Linked DNA regions of Homo sapiens: all the other regions are linked to region 3. Evidence: promoter capture Hi-C in 16 types of primary human blood cells and fetal thymus (Javierre and others, 2016). All regions are on one chromosome and are shown on one strand. The core of a region is centred on a gene start or on the middle of the fragment in contact, and the rest is flanking DNA. Distances in the headings are between cores, read along the strand shown. Region 1 has its middle 240 kb from the start of MDFIC2. Region 2 has its middle 210 kb from the start of MDFIC2. Region 3 holds the start of FOXP1 (forkhead box P1).

The links. The method cuts DNA at HindIII sites, captures the fragments that hold promoters and counts their contacts. A CHiCAGO score of 5 or more calls a contact.
Region 1: a fragment that was not itself captured here is called in contact with the fragment with the promoter of FOXP1 in region 3 in 10 of 17 cell types (naive CD8 T cells, activated CD4 T cells, naive CD4 T cells and 7 more); the score reaches 18.5 in naive CD8 T cells.
Region 2: a fragment that was not itself captured here is called in contact with the fragment with the promoter of FOXP1 in region 3 in 1 of 17 cell types (naive CD4 T cells); the score reaches 5.0 in naive CD4 T cells.

The regions. Positions count from the first base shown.
Region 1 is chr3:70,551,446-70,555,513 of GRCh38, forward strand. No RefSeq gene overlaps it. Among named protein-coding and RNA genes, the nearest start is that of MDFIC2, 240 kb to the left of the region's middle. The HindIII fragment of the contact is 6,674 bases long and covers 1-4,068 here.
Region 2 is chr3:70,517,244-70,521,325 of GRCh38, forward strand. No RefSeq gene overlaps it. Among named protein-coding and RNA genes, the nearest start is that of MDFIC2, 210 kb to the left of the region's middle. The HindIII fragment of the contact is 1,270 bases long and covers 927-2,196 here.
Region 3 is chr3:71,582,121-71,586,275 of GRCh38, forward strand. It overlaps FOXP1 (forkhead box P1), which reads right to left and starts at 1,608. Exons shown (of 21, transcript NM_001349338.3): 1 at 1,451-1,608. FOXP1-DT (FOXP1 divergent transcript) reads left to right here and starts at 2,823. Exons shown (of 1, transcript NR_182289.1): 1 at 2,823-4,155. RefSeq lists a silencer at 1,481-1,720 and an enhancer at 1,798-2,092. The HindIII fragment of the contact is 2,384 bases long and covers 482-2,865 here.

The DNA.
Region 1 (4,068 bases), core at 226-2,725, 1.0 Mb before region 3:
AAATGGGATTTTCTTTTCTTTTGCATTGACAGGCTGCAAATTTTCCAAACTTTTATGCTCTGCTTCCCTTTTAAAACTGAATAGCTTTTAAAACACCCAAGTCACCTATTGAATGCTTTGCTGCTTAGAAATTTCTTCTACCAGACGCCCTAAATTATCTCTTGCAAGTTCAAAGTTCCACAAATCTCTACGGCAGGGGCAAAATGCCACCAGTCTCTTTGCTAAAACATAACAAGAGTTATCTTTGCTTCAGTTCCCAACAAGTTCCTCATCTCCATCTGAGACCTCCTCAGCCTGGACCTTATTGTTCATATCACTATCAGCATTTTTGTCAAAGCCATTCAACAAGTCTCTAGGAAGTTCCAAACTTTCCCACTTTTTCCTGTCTCCTTCTGAGCCCCTCAAACTGTTCCAACCTCTGCCTGTTACACAGTTACAAAGTCACTTCCACATTTTTGGGTGTCTTTTTAGCAACGCTCTACTCTACCAGTACCAATTTACTGCATTAGTCCATTTTCACACTGCTAATAAAGACATACCCAAGACTGGGCAATTTACAAAAGAAAGAAATTTATCAGACTATGGTTCCATGTGGCTGGGGAGGCCTCACAATCATGGCGGAAGGTGAAAGGCATGTCTCACATGGTGGCAGGCAAGAGAAGAGCACCGTTTGTGCAGGGAAAATCCCCTTTTTAAAACCATCAGATCTTGTGAGACTTATTCACTACCACAAGAACAGCACAGGAAAGACCCGTCCCCATGATTCAGGTATCTCCCATTGGGTCCCTCCCACAATACATGGGAATTATGGGAGCCACAAGATGAGATTTGGGTGGGGACACAGAGCCAAACCATATCAAACAGACATTTCAAAACCAATCATGCCTTCCCAACAGTCCCCCAAAGTCTTAACTCATTTCAGCATTAACTCAAAAATTCACAGTCCAATGTCTCATTTGAGACAAGATGAATCTGTTCCACCTATGAGCCTGTAAAATCAAAAGCAAGTTATTTACTTCCTAGATAAAATAGGGGTACAGCCATTGGGTAAATGCAGCCATTCCAAATGGGAGATATTGGCCAAAACAAAGGGGCTACAGGCCCCATGTAAGTCTGAAATCCAGCAGGACAGTCAAATCTTAAAGCTCCAAAATGATCTCCTTCGACTCCATGTCTCACATCCCAGTCATGCTGATGCAAGAGGTGGGTTTCCATGGTGAACCCACCATGGTGAAAGGCATGATTGGTAAAATGCAGAAATCTTAAATTTATAACTAGATGAATTTTCATAAAATGAACACACATTTATAACCATTATAAATAGTGCTGCTATAAAGTTTCTTGCACATTTATTTTGGTGAGCATATGTTGAGCATTTTTATTGGGTTTATACCTAAAGAATTTGCTTTGTCATAGGGTACATGTTTTTCAGCTTTAGTGAATGCTGCCAAACAGTTTTCCAAAGTGGTTTTACCAATTTGCAGTCCTCTCAGTATGTGAGAATTCCAACAAATCCATATTCTCTTATACTATTTAACTTCAAGTATTACAATTTCTGAAAGATCTATTTGATTATTTTATTTGAAAATTCTGTTTTATTCCTTTCAAATCTGCCTATTCCTTAGACATATTTTCAAACCATCTCTTATTTTTATAATCATGTTAAACATTCTTATCCATACTCTTTAAAGTTCTGGTCTTCATCCATTTGACTCAGCAATTTGTTTCCTTATTTATTTCATGATTTCTTTTAAAATCATGAGCTTATTTTTAATAACACTTAAGTGTGGGAATTCTTTGAAGTCTGAGTTACAGGTACATTCCCCCAGGTAGGATTTGCATTTGTATTTATCAGGTGCCTGGAAGCGCCCCCAGCTTGGGAGAATAGGCTAAAATTCATAAGGCCAAGCCTGTGGTTATGAGCCTATAGAGGAATTTTTTCCCCCTTCCATTCAAAACCAATATTGAAAGAAATTTTCTCATATCTTTTTCTATGAGCCAGGCTTTCTCCCTCATTCACCCTTTCACTGAGTTACAGTATTATCCTTTGAGGTCTCGGCCTAATGCTAAGAGCCTAGTGAAGTCGTCTTCTATCAAATTAACCTCTGTGTGCCAGCTCTAATCTCTTGACCCCTCTTCTCTACACATCTGATAAAGTAAAATCTGTTGGTCACATGCAAAGAATGAACAGCCGTCCCCAAGCCTCCCTTACTTTGCCTTACCTCTCTGGGTTTGTGCTTTCACTCCAGTTTCTTTCTCTAAAAGTAGCGCTTAATTTCTTATCAGCTTAGCCGTGAATTCAAAACAGATCTTTAAAATTTTCATCCAGCATTATGTATTATTTTTCAGGGGGAAAATTGTTTAGAAGACACCTCTTAAAATGTGGTCTAGCAGCTTTGAGTGTCTCTGAGGCCTTTTCTAGGGTTTGCTAGGTCAAAGTTATATTCACAATAATAAAAAGATTTGATTTGCATTTTTCACTCTTACTGCCTCCTGAGAGTACAGTGGAGTACAATGGTAATATGACGTGTGTTGATGTCATCATTCTGACAGCTAATGGAATGTATGCTTTGCGTTCTTGTGATTTAAAAAAAAAACCTCTCAGCTTTAATTTCTAGCATGGTACGTATTGATTAGTATAATTCATATAACAGAAATTCTTTGGGGTTCTTAATAATTTTTAGGAACATAAAGGGATTCTGAGTTCAGGAAGCTAGAGAAGTGCTGATTTGGGGTATCCTTTGTGCTAAATTGTGAAAAATGAAATTCCTCAAATGCCAAAATATAGAACATCATCAATGTGTGCTATAAACAATCACGAGGTGGAGAAGATCTAAGTTAAGCTGCTGTAGAAGGCTGTATGCAAATATGTTCCTAAGACCATGAGTTCCTCCAGAGCAAGAATCTTCTGAAGTAAGAAGCCAGGCTTTATCATGCACCATGAGCTCCTGAGAAGGAATTCAGCATTTCTGAGTCACAGTTTCCTCAACTACTTAATGTAGAAACATAAGAAACATAGTTCTTCCTCCAAATGTTGCACCTATAATGTAAGATGATAGCAAAATCAGTCTTGGGTCTTTGTAAGGTTTCATATTGTTGAAAATAAAGGTTTTTCAAAACTAACAAAGATGATTGACTCAGATTTCCTTCTTAGGTAAAAATGACCAGAATTTAAACCTGGGCAGTAAATTTAACTGGTATTTTAAAGAGCAATATGCAGTAGTAACTGTCCTCTACTATGGCCTACACTTTGACCAGTGTTAAAATAATGAGCCATCTTAATGTTACTAAAGGAAGAATAAATGTGACATTGGAGAGTCAGCTTGGTCTGATGGGAAGAAAACCACATTAAGGAGGCCTAAGTTCTAATCTTGTTCTGTGATATAACAGCTATATGACATCCCATGTTATGGTCGGATGTCATGCTGGTTACTCCCGATGAACCACATTTGTTATGCACCCTCTTGTGTAGTCCCCTCCCACCTTGTCTCTGGGCTCCTGTTGGGCAATGGGACATTAGCAAGTGTGATACAGCAGAGATTTGACAAATGCTCGCACATTAGGGCTTGTCCATTTGGAATGCTTCCACTTGTAAGGCAAAGAAACTCAGGCTAGATTATTGAATAATGAGTGTCACAGGAGAGAAACATTGAGGATGAGAGGTCACCTTGTATATTCCATTCCCGGGCTCCCAGTTGAGTGCAAGTCCATGAGTGACCTCAGTCCCTACCAAATAGAGCAAAAGTACTGCCCATATGAACCCATTCAACCCACAGAATTGTGAGAAATAATAAACCATTGTTGTTTTAAGTCACTATGTTTTGAGATGGTCTGTTACACAGTTATAGATAACACATTCTAACCACTTGTCTCTAAAACTTTTTATTTTTCATTGTTTTTTTAAAAAGATAGGGTCTCACTCTGTCACCCAGGTTGAAGTGCAGTAGTATAGCTCACTGCAGCCTTTAACTCCTGGGCTCAAGCAATCCTCCTACCTCAGCCTCCCAGTTAGCTGGGACTATAGGCACAAGCCACTGCTCTTGGCTTAAAAATGGAACGAAAAAAATA
Region 2 (4,082 bases), core at 312-2,811, 1.1 Mb before region 3:
AAGTGCAGTACCATAATAGTGGAGTTCATAAGCATTCTGGCTTGTAATTTTGGGTGTCAACATTTGAATTGCAGAAAGAGTTTATGCAGACATAGCACGTACACAAGTGCAGTTTAGATCCACATCTATAAAAATAACATCTGTTTAAGCATACATTACATTTAAAAATAACTGTACAGTGATCAGCTGGTTAAGTACAGTTAACCAGATGTCGTTTTAAAGGGCCAGATGGAACTATGAAACTAAGATTGAAAAATTAAAAAATACTGTGAAAGGTCAAACCAATTAAGCAACCTGTTTTGTTGGCATGTAACAGTTAAAAAGTAAGTTAAACTACTTAAGGAGTGAGCAATATGAAGATGTAGCAGTTAAAACCAGGTCTTGCTCCTCTGAGGACAAAGAGAAAAATCCAGGCTAGAGTTGCTCACTTACTGGAACTCAGGCCAACATCAGAAATGTGAATTTTCCTGTGGTTATCAGAGGCTGGGGAGTGGGAGGTTTGGGGAGCTGTTGGCCCAAAAATAGAAAATTTCAGTTAGACAGGAGGAATAAGTCCAAGAGATCTATCGCACAACATGATGATTATAGTTAATAAAAATGTATTGTATACTTGAAAATTACTAAGAGAGTGGATTTTAAATGTTTTCTCCACAAAAAAAAAAAGATAAGTATGTAAGGTAATACATATGCTTGATTTAGCCATTCCACAATGCAGTATTTCAAAACATCATGTTGTATACCATAAATACAAACAATTTTTATTTGCCAGTTAAAAAATTATTTTTTAAAAAAATTGAAAAATAAATGTGAATTTCTGTTGAGATGATTCGGAATTGTCTTCACTATATTTTCAATATATGTTTTCAAACAAAAATTAAAACTTCTGTTACAAAGTCACAGGACCCAATAAAATTCTCCAAAGTATAAGCTTTTCCCAAGTTAAGCATTTTAACATAACGGTGGATAAGACTAAACATATGAATATATGACTTAAGTAATAAATCTGATCCTTAAGAGTGAGAAATCTGATGATTTTCTAAGAAGCTCAAATTGATTATTTTTCTTTCCTCATGTTGGATATCACATGCAATGAAAAAACGAGGCAAATATTTATGGAATATCTATACTGAGGCAGGTTCTGTTACAAACATGTTCACATACATCAGAGGTCACAACGGGTGCCTCCCTCCGCTTATTTGGCCTGCAGATGTGTTTTGTTTGGCTTGCACAGTGCTTTAAATTTGAATTAATTGCCAAAAACTAAAAATTGTGAGGTTTCACATAAAAGTCCGGATTTCCAGCTTCCCGGAAAACCTGGCAACACCAGGTCCACATTTTTTCCATTGCAAAAACTCACTGGAGCCAAATAGGAACAGCTGCCTCTTTAGAGGGACAGAAAGTCTCAAGTTTGTCACAGACACCACCAGTCCCTTCAAATCAGAGACTGCATGCCAGTTGCCATTTACTGCCTTCTACCTAGCCCACTTTACTCAGAGTAACTTCGAGTTTCCAACTCTAATAGTCGTCAACTCCCTTAATCCCCACAGTCAACCTTATAAAGGGAGTACCGTTTGTTATTAATATTTTACAAAAAACTAGAGACAAGAGAATCCTACTAACTCCTCTGAGTCACACAGTTGGTAACTACCAGAGGCAGAATTCAAATTTGAGTCTGGTGTTTCTAATATTCCTAATATGTAAGTCTTTATACAGCCAAAGTATCAGAATTCTTATCTTTGATCATGTGTGGGGCAGCAGGCACTATTCATCAGAAATGAAATAAATAGATCTACTAGAAAATAATTGTTGACCATACACAGCAGACAATTTAGTGCTGACCTTTGTCCAAAGATGATTGAATGATTGAGAGTCAAGATGTGAAAGAACACAAGAATGCCAAAGAGATTCCATCCCCCCAGTTCGTGTCCTTCTGTTGCCTTTGCCTGTCCCACGTGCCAGAGCTGAGCGGGACTTTGAGGCTGTGTTTTAGCTAAGTGAGGAAAAGCTGAAGATTGGAAGGGAGAAAATAGTGGCTTGTGTCATAATGGACTTTTTTTTTGGATCAGGACTCATTTTTTTTCTTTTGGCAATACACGCTTCCTCCTGGAAGTTCTCACTATACTTTCTTTTCCAGCATTGACTTTTCCTACATTTTTCTACAGTAAATTAATAACAAAGAATGATATCTGCTAAGCAAGCTTTATTTTCCATCTAAATATGCATTTTCAAATTTCAAGCCTCTTTCTTTGTCTGTTGCCCTTGCTGCTTACTTAAATTTTAAGTGAAAACAGCCAATTTTTTAAAAATAAATTTATTAAGGAAAGCAGAGAGATAGATTAATGTACAGTTATGTCACTAAACCAGGATAAAGTTATATACATATATATCTTTGTATAGGGATCCAGATGCATGGCTGAAAAATAAGGCAATATTTACAGCAGGTTAGAGTCATGTGATCTTATTTCAATATAGCCATCGTTTTCCTGGAGGTGAAGCGGTTTTACGTGGGGAAAGAGAATATAGTTTTAAAGGGGGGGGGGAGAGACAGAGAGAAACAGAGAAGGAGAGAGAGAAAGAATAGAGAATAAATTCTAAGGGAAAGACAAATTTTGAGGACTGAAAAATGAAAGATTCCACCTAAACTTTTCTCATCCAGAATGTAACCCATTAAAGAAAGATGTCAAATAATGCTTAACAGCCTTTTTTAAAAGCCTCTAGAAAGCCTATGTTAATCGGACACACCTGTGGTATTGATAGTTTGGTAAGAATCAGTGTCACTGGGTGCAGTTGAAATGCAACGAGAATATCCCAGAAGACACTACATACTAGCATTTTAAATATCATGAGTAAGCAATAGTTGGTGGTAAATATCTTGGAGTTAGTGCTGGGAAGAACTGACTCAGTAACTATCTATGCAGGAGTAGCAATTCCTTGTCAAGAAAGAAAGAAAAGAAAAAGAAAAGGGGGGATTTACAAAAGAATGGGTTTGAGAGTAGAGAAGGAATTAGAAGAGGACAGTTAGGAAAGAGGAATCAGAAAACCTATAAAGAAAATTCTCCTATACCAAGGACCTTCTATTCTGAATCCACTCCCTCCTCTTCAGTTAAATGAACTGTTAAAAGACCCAAACCAAAACTGCAGTTACTCAGCCAACAATAACTTGGGAAGTTAGAGCAGATGGCTCCACCTCTCCATCTGATTACAGCACATCCATAACCTCCCCTCAGCTCACTCTCATAGCAACAGGGGAGGACAGGCACACTGAATGGCTGACACTCAAAGGAGGAGGCTGGCAAAGCCATGGCTCGGGTTTTTAGAGTTCAGGCTGATTTTACAGGCCTATTAATAACACATATGTTGACCACTCAGTTTTCTGATTTTGGGGAATGGCCTAGAAGCAAGCTGCTTTCCTCACCAAAACCCATTTCTTGCTGGTATGCCATCAAACATGATTATGTAGCCCAAGGAAAGTTCTACTATTTTAGCTGAAAATATATATCACACATTCCTGAGGTTGTAGAGATCGAAATTGAGCAGGGAAGAAAATATCAACATTTGTTAAATGCCATGAACTCTTGAGCTATGGTTTCAGTCATTTGGGATGTCTTTCCCATGAAAAGATGAATAATGTCCAAAGATGAAGGGAAATGCAGTCTTCTCACCAAATCATGATTGGAGCACTGGTTCCATATACAGTTGCCTTTTGGGTCCCATGCAGCGCAAGCTGCAAAAACCTGCCACAATGCTGGTGGGCAATAGACAGCCAGCTTATTGTGGCTGGAATTGGAAAAGCCAAAGATTTTAATCAGGGTGACCCAAAGCAGTCGGGGGTGGGGGTGGGTGGTGGTGGTTGATTTCTCCTGGAATGTTGAGTGCAGTCAGGTTCCAATAACTTATCTAAAGGCAACATTCTGGTGACCAACTTGAAGTACTTCTCTTATTAGGAAATGACAAAGATTTTCAGAGAGGAAAGAGCCATAACAGTAAGGTGGGATACATAGGTTGTTGATACCAGGGTTTGAAAATATAAGAAGCCCCCAAACCCAAACATTTAATCAACAATGTGAGTAAGACAATAAGTG
Region 3 (4,155 bases), core at 358-2,857:
GGGGCATGCGACTTTGTTTCCGGGAGCGGAGCTCCCCAGAGCCCGTGTGTGTCACTGCCAGTCTCCCGGGACCAAGGCGGAGCTCACAACAGGTGGGGAGGGGGGCTCGTCGAGGGCCAAAAAGAAGAAGGAATCTAAGTTTCCGAGCGCGACGTTGTCTGAAAAGGAGGGAGGCGGGAGGCGGGGGCGAGGGAAGGCGGAGGCAGCAAATGACCGCGACCCCGCGGCAACTGGCAAACTCCTCGGCTCCCGGCGCCGCCGCCACCGCCGTGGTCCCCACTCGAAGCGCACGCCGCCTCGGCTCGCTGGCTCCAGGGAGTCGTCTCGGCGGGACAGGAATAGAGCGCAGGGAGCTCGGGAGGAAGGCTGCGCGCAAGCGAGGGACGGAGAGCCATCGGCCGCCAGGACAGGGCCGGAGGGACGAGGCGACACGCGCGCGACGCAGGACAAATCGGAGCTTGGGAAATCTCCCCGTCCCCCAAGCTTCAGAGGGGGGTAAAATCAGAAAATGTGTGTGATGGTGGGAGAGAGATCCGGGCGCGGCGACTCCTCGCAGCGCATCCGGCTCCCGCACCCACCCGTGGATCTGGCCACGGCTGTTGCGGACTCGTCTCGGGAAAGCGGAGGCCGAGCGCGCGTAGGGGTGCGTGTCTGGCTGGGGGTGCGCAGGTGCGTGTTTGAATTTTCCGGGCTCCGAGGGGGTGGCGGGAGAGCTTCCTCGCCGCTGACTCTCGGGGTAACGCGCGCGTGGCAGCGGGGAAGTTCCCCAGTGCGGGGCCCAGGGCCAGGCACCACAGTCAGTTTGCTGGGGCCCGCGGGGCAGCTCAAGGGCACCGAGGGGGCACACACCCGCGGGGAAAGAAGGGGAAAAGTTTGCTCCAAGTCTAAACTTTGGGCCTAGGAGGCGCCCGGCGCGCGCCCCCTCCCGCCGCGGCCAGGACCCGGGACCCCGCACCGGCCCCGCGCCCGGGCGGCCACCGGACGCCAACGCCGGACATCGAAAGTTGCGCCAGGCGGCCTGGGCTTATTGATTTCTCTCCCCTAGGCGATCGTGGAGAGCGCAGAGAGAGGCGTGAAGGGGCCTACGGGCAGGCGATCTCGCCTCCTCACAGTCGCCACCGCCCCCGCCCCCATTTGACTTATGCAAATAAACCCAAAGGGTGCGGGCGCCGCCGGAGCTCCCTCCACCCGCGCGCCGGCCCGCAGCCCCCACCCATCCCAGAGCTGGGCCTCGACCCGGGGGGGAGAGGAAGAGAGGGGAGGGCTGGGGGAGATGCACGTGGAGCCTGGAGGTGGAAAGTAGTTGTTTTTTTTTTTCCATTTTTTTTCTCTTTTTCTTTCTTTCTTTTTTTTTTTTTGTGCTGGTTGTTGTTGTTGTTTAAAGTGGCGGAAACAAGACAGGAGGCGGCTTGGGAAAAAGTGGAGCAGAAATGGAAAAATACAAACTCACCCGCTGCAAATGGTCTCTCGGTGCAAACTAAGGTGTTTTCGGGCCTTTCCCCGCGCGCGCCCACTCCCGCCCGCGCGCGCACCCCGCGCACACACTCACTCGCGCACACACGCGCGCACACACGCACTCCCGGGCGAGGGCCGGGCCGCCGCGAGTACAGCGTGCAACCGCCACACAATAAATAACAATAGATTCCTCCGCTCCGGACTAGCTTCCCGGAGCCCAGCCAGCGCCGGTGGCGGCGGCGGCGGCGGCAGAGGCGCGGGCAGCACCGGCCCGGGGGCGCACCCCGGCCCGACCCTCTACCTCCCGCAGGGGTCCCCTCTCCGCTTCACGCACCCCGCTGGGCACTCCAGCGGCCCCCCGAGCGGGAGCGGCTCCCTCTTTGCCGTTCGCCGGGGCGCTGGCGCCCACCCCCCTCCTCCCTCCCCCCTCCCCCCCGACATCCCGGAACAAATAAATAAATAAGGCGCGCGAGAGAGGCCAACACGTCGCGGAGGGAGATGTTGTTATTTTTTGCTGTTGTGCGTCCCTGACGTCACATCCACCTGCTGGGTAAACAACCGGGCTCCCAGAAAAAAAAAATCGCAATTGCCAAAGAATGGGGGGGGGGGTTGGGGGGAGGGATCCAGGGAGGGGGAAGTGAGGGGCGTCCAGGCAGGATTGGAAAGAGGAGAGGGAGGCAGAGCCCCGCGGACCAGAGAGAGGAAGGGAACGCCAGAGCAGTCCCTGGCAACAGAGGGATCTGGCAGGAAAGACCTGGAAAATAAGGGGCAGGGGGGCGGAGGGGGAGATTCCTCAGGAGATGGGAAATGGGGGGCCCATTCAGACAGCGGAAAAAACGAGAAGGGAGAGTGTTAACTAGGGACGAAGATGGGAATGCGATGGCTATTTGCTTGGATTCTGAGCTAAAAATATGAAAGGGAGGGGAGAGGACAGGCTAGAATGTGAGTTTCCTCCAGTTAAAAGTGAAAGTGTTTTGCCATCAGTGACAGTTGAAGGAGAGCGGGGTGGGAGGTGGTGTTTTCAACCCCCTTTCTCCCTCTCTCCCGTCCTCCCTCGGTCTCTCCTCTTTCTTTCTGCACTTTGTCCAATGAAAGAAGGCGAGTTCGGGAGGTGAAAGTTCAGCAGAAGGACAAACCCCTGTTTGCAAGGAAACAGAAACCCCGCCAGCCAGCGAGGGGTTTTCTCCCCTGTTTCTCGGAATCAGGAGAGTGTGAATGTGGGACGAGCTTCTGCCCCCTTGTCAGAGCCACTGCAGGAATGTGCAATCGAGTCCACTTTGGGGGAAGGTGGCTGCATCAGGAACTGTGTTCTTGCCACGACTCCTCTTAGGAAAACGCCTGGGGGCTAGCATGTCAGTCCGTTGTTTAACACAAATTACCTGCTCTCCCAGTGATCAGTCACGTGCAAAAAGCTTTGTCCAATTCTTTGAAAAGGTGAGATTTTTTTTTTTCTTTTTGCGGTTTTTGAAGTTTGGTTGAATTTAGAAATTCGAAGGAATAAACTAAGAGCCTGAATTAAATGTTTTGAAATATACATACATAAAACAAAAGACACTAGTATTTCTTTCACTTTTATCAATACGCATAGAGAAGGAAGCAGAGTATGTGTTTCCAAAACGTGACTTGGAAAGCTGTAAGACCTCTATGTCTTGTTGTTGTTGTTGTTGTTGTTGTTAACAGAAGTAAATTTTTTCAGACCCACCACCACAGAAGTGGCCAGACTCCCAAACCAGCATTTCCAGCTACTGGCTGGCTGGTGTACACCAGGCCAATTCTTTATGAGAATATATTAAAAGTCACCCCTGTGGATTCCTACAAAGTACTTCCCCTTGCGGGGAGGGGAGAGGCTTACTGTCCCTTTGGTCTTGAGACCAGCACAGTTGTAGATAATATCCTGAAAAGGTTATTATTAAATTCTTTCGCGTAATGCCCCTTTACAAATATTGTTAAACATTAATTTACAGAAGAACTTAAATCTTAATTTCAAGGGTGGCATAAGACTATCGCTTTGAAATTGTATCTTTCGCAAGTTAAAAAAAAAAAATAACAAAGCCATTCGCTGATGCTACAGAATAAAAGAAAGGGAGGCTGCTAAGGTAATTTCAGCCTGGTAGAATTCACATTGCATGCATGCTGCATAAAGTTCCATGCTATCCAGATAAGACTATTCACTGAATCTTTTAGACTAGAATCTAGACCAATAAAATGCATTTTAGTTTGTATGGAATGTCCTAGCTTCCTAGAGGCTAGGGTTCGACGTCTTGTTTGTCAAGACATAAAGGGATTAATGACATACCCACTGTGTGCTAGACCACAGAGTGGGCACAGAGGGATGAAAAAATAAAAATTCCTGCCCTTGAGGAGCTCACAGTCTAAGCTGTCAATAATAACATCTAACATTTATTAAATACTATGATCTAGGCACTGAACTAAAAGCTTTATGTCAACTCAGTTAATACTGCCAACAACTCTTTGACATCACTGGAAATTCCATATGCTGAATTCACACGGAATTAAGTGGAAATCTACAAAGTAGCCAGTCTACTGGTTCTGTAGTGGTCAACCTATTAAAAATGGTTTTTAATTTCTAAAGTACTTTATGCCAAATATAACATGTTTATGGTATATGCCTGACTGTAGAATTATAACTCAGGGGAATAACGACTTATTTAAATGTAACAGATCTATTCATAGTCTGTA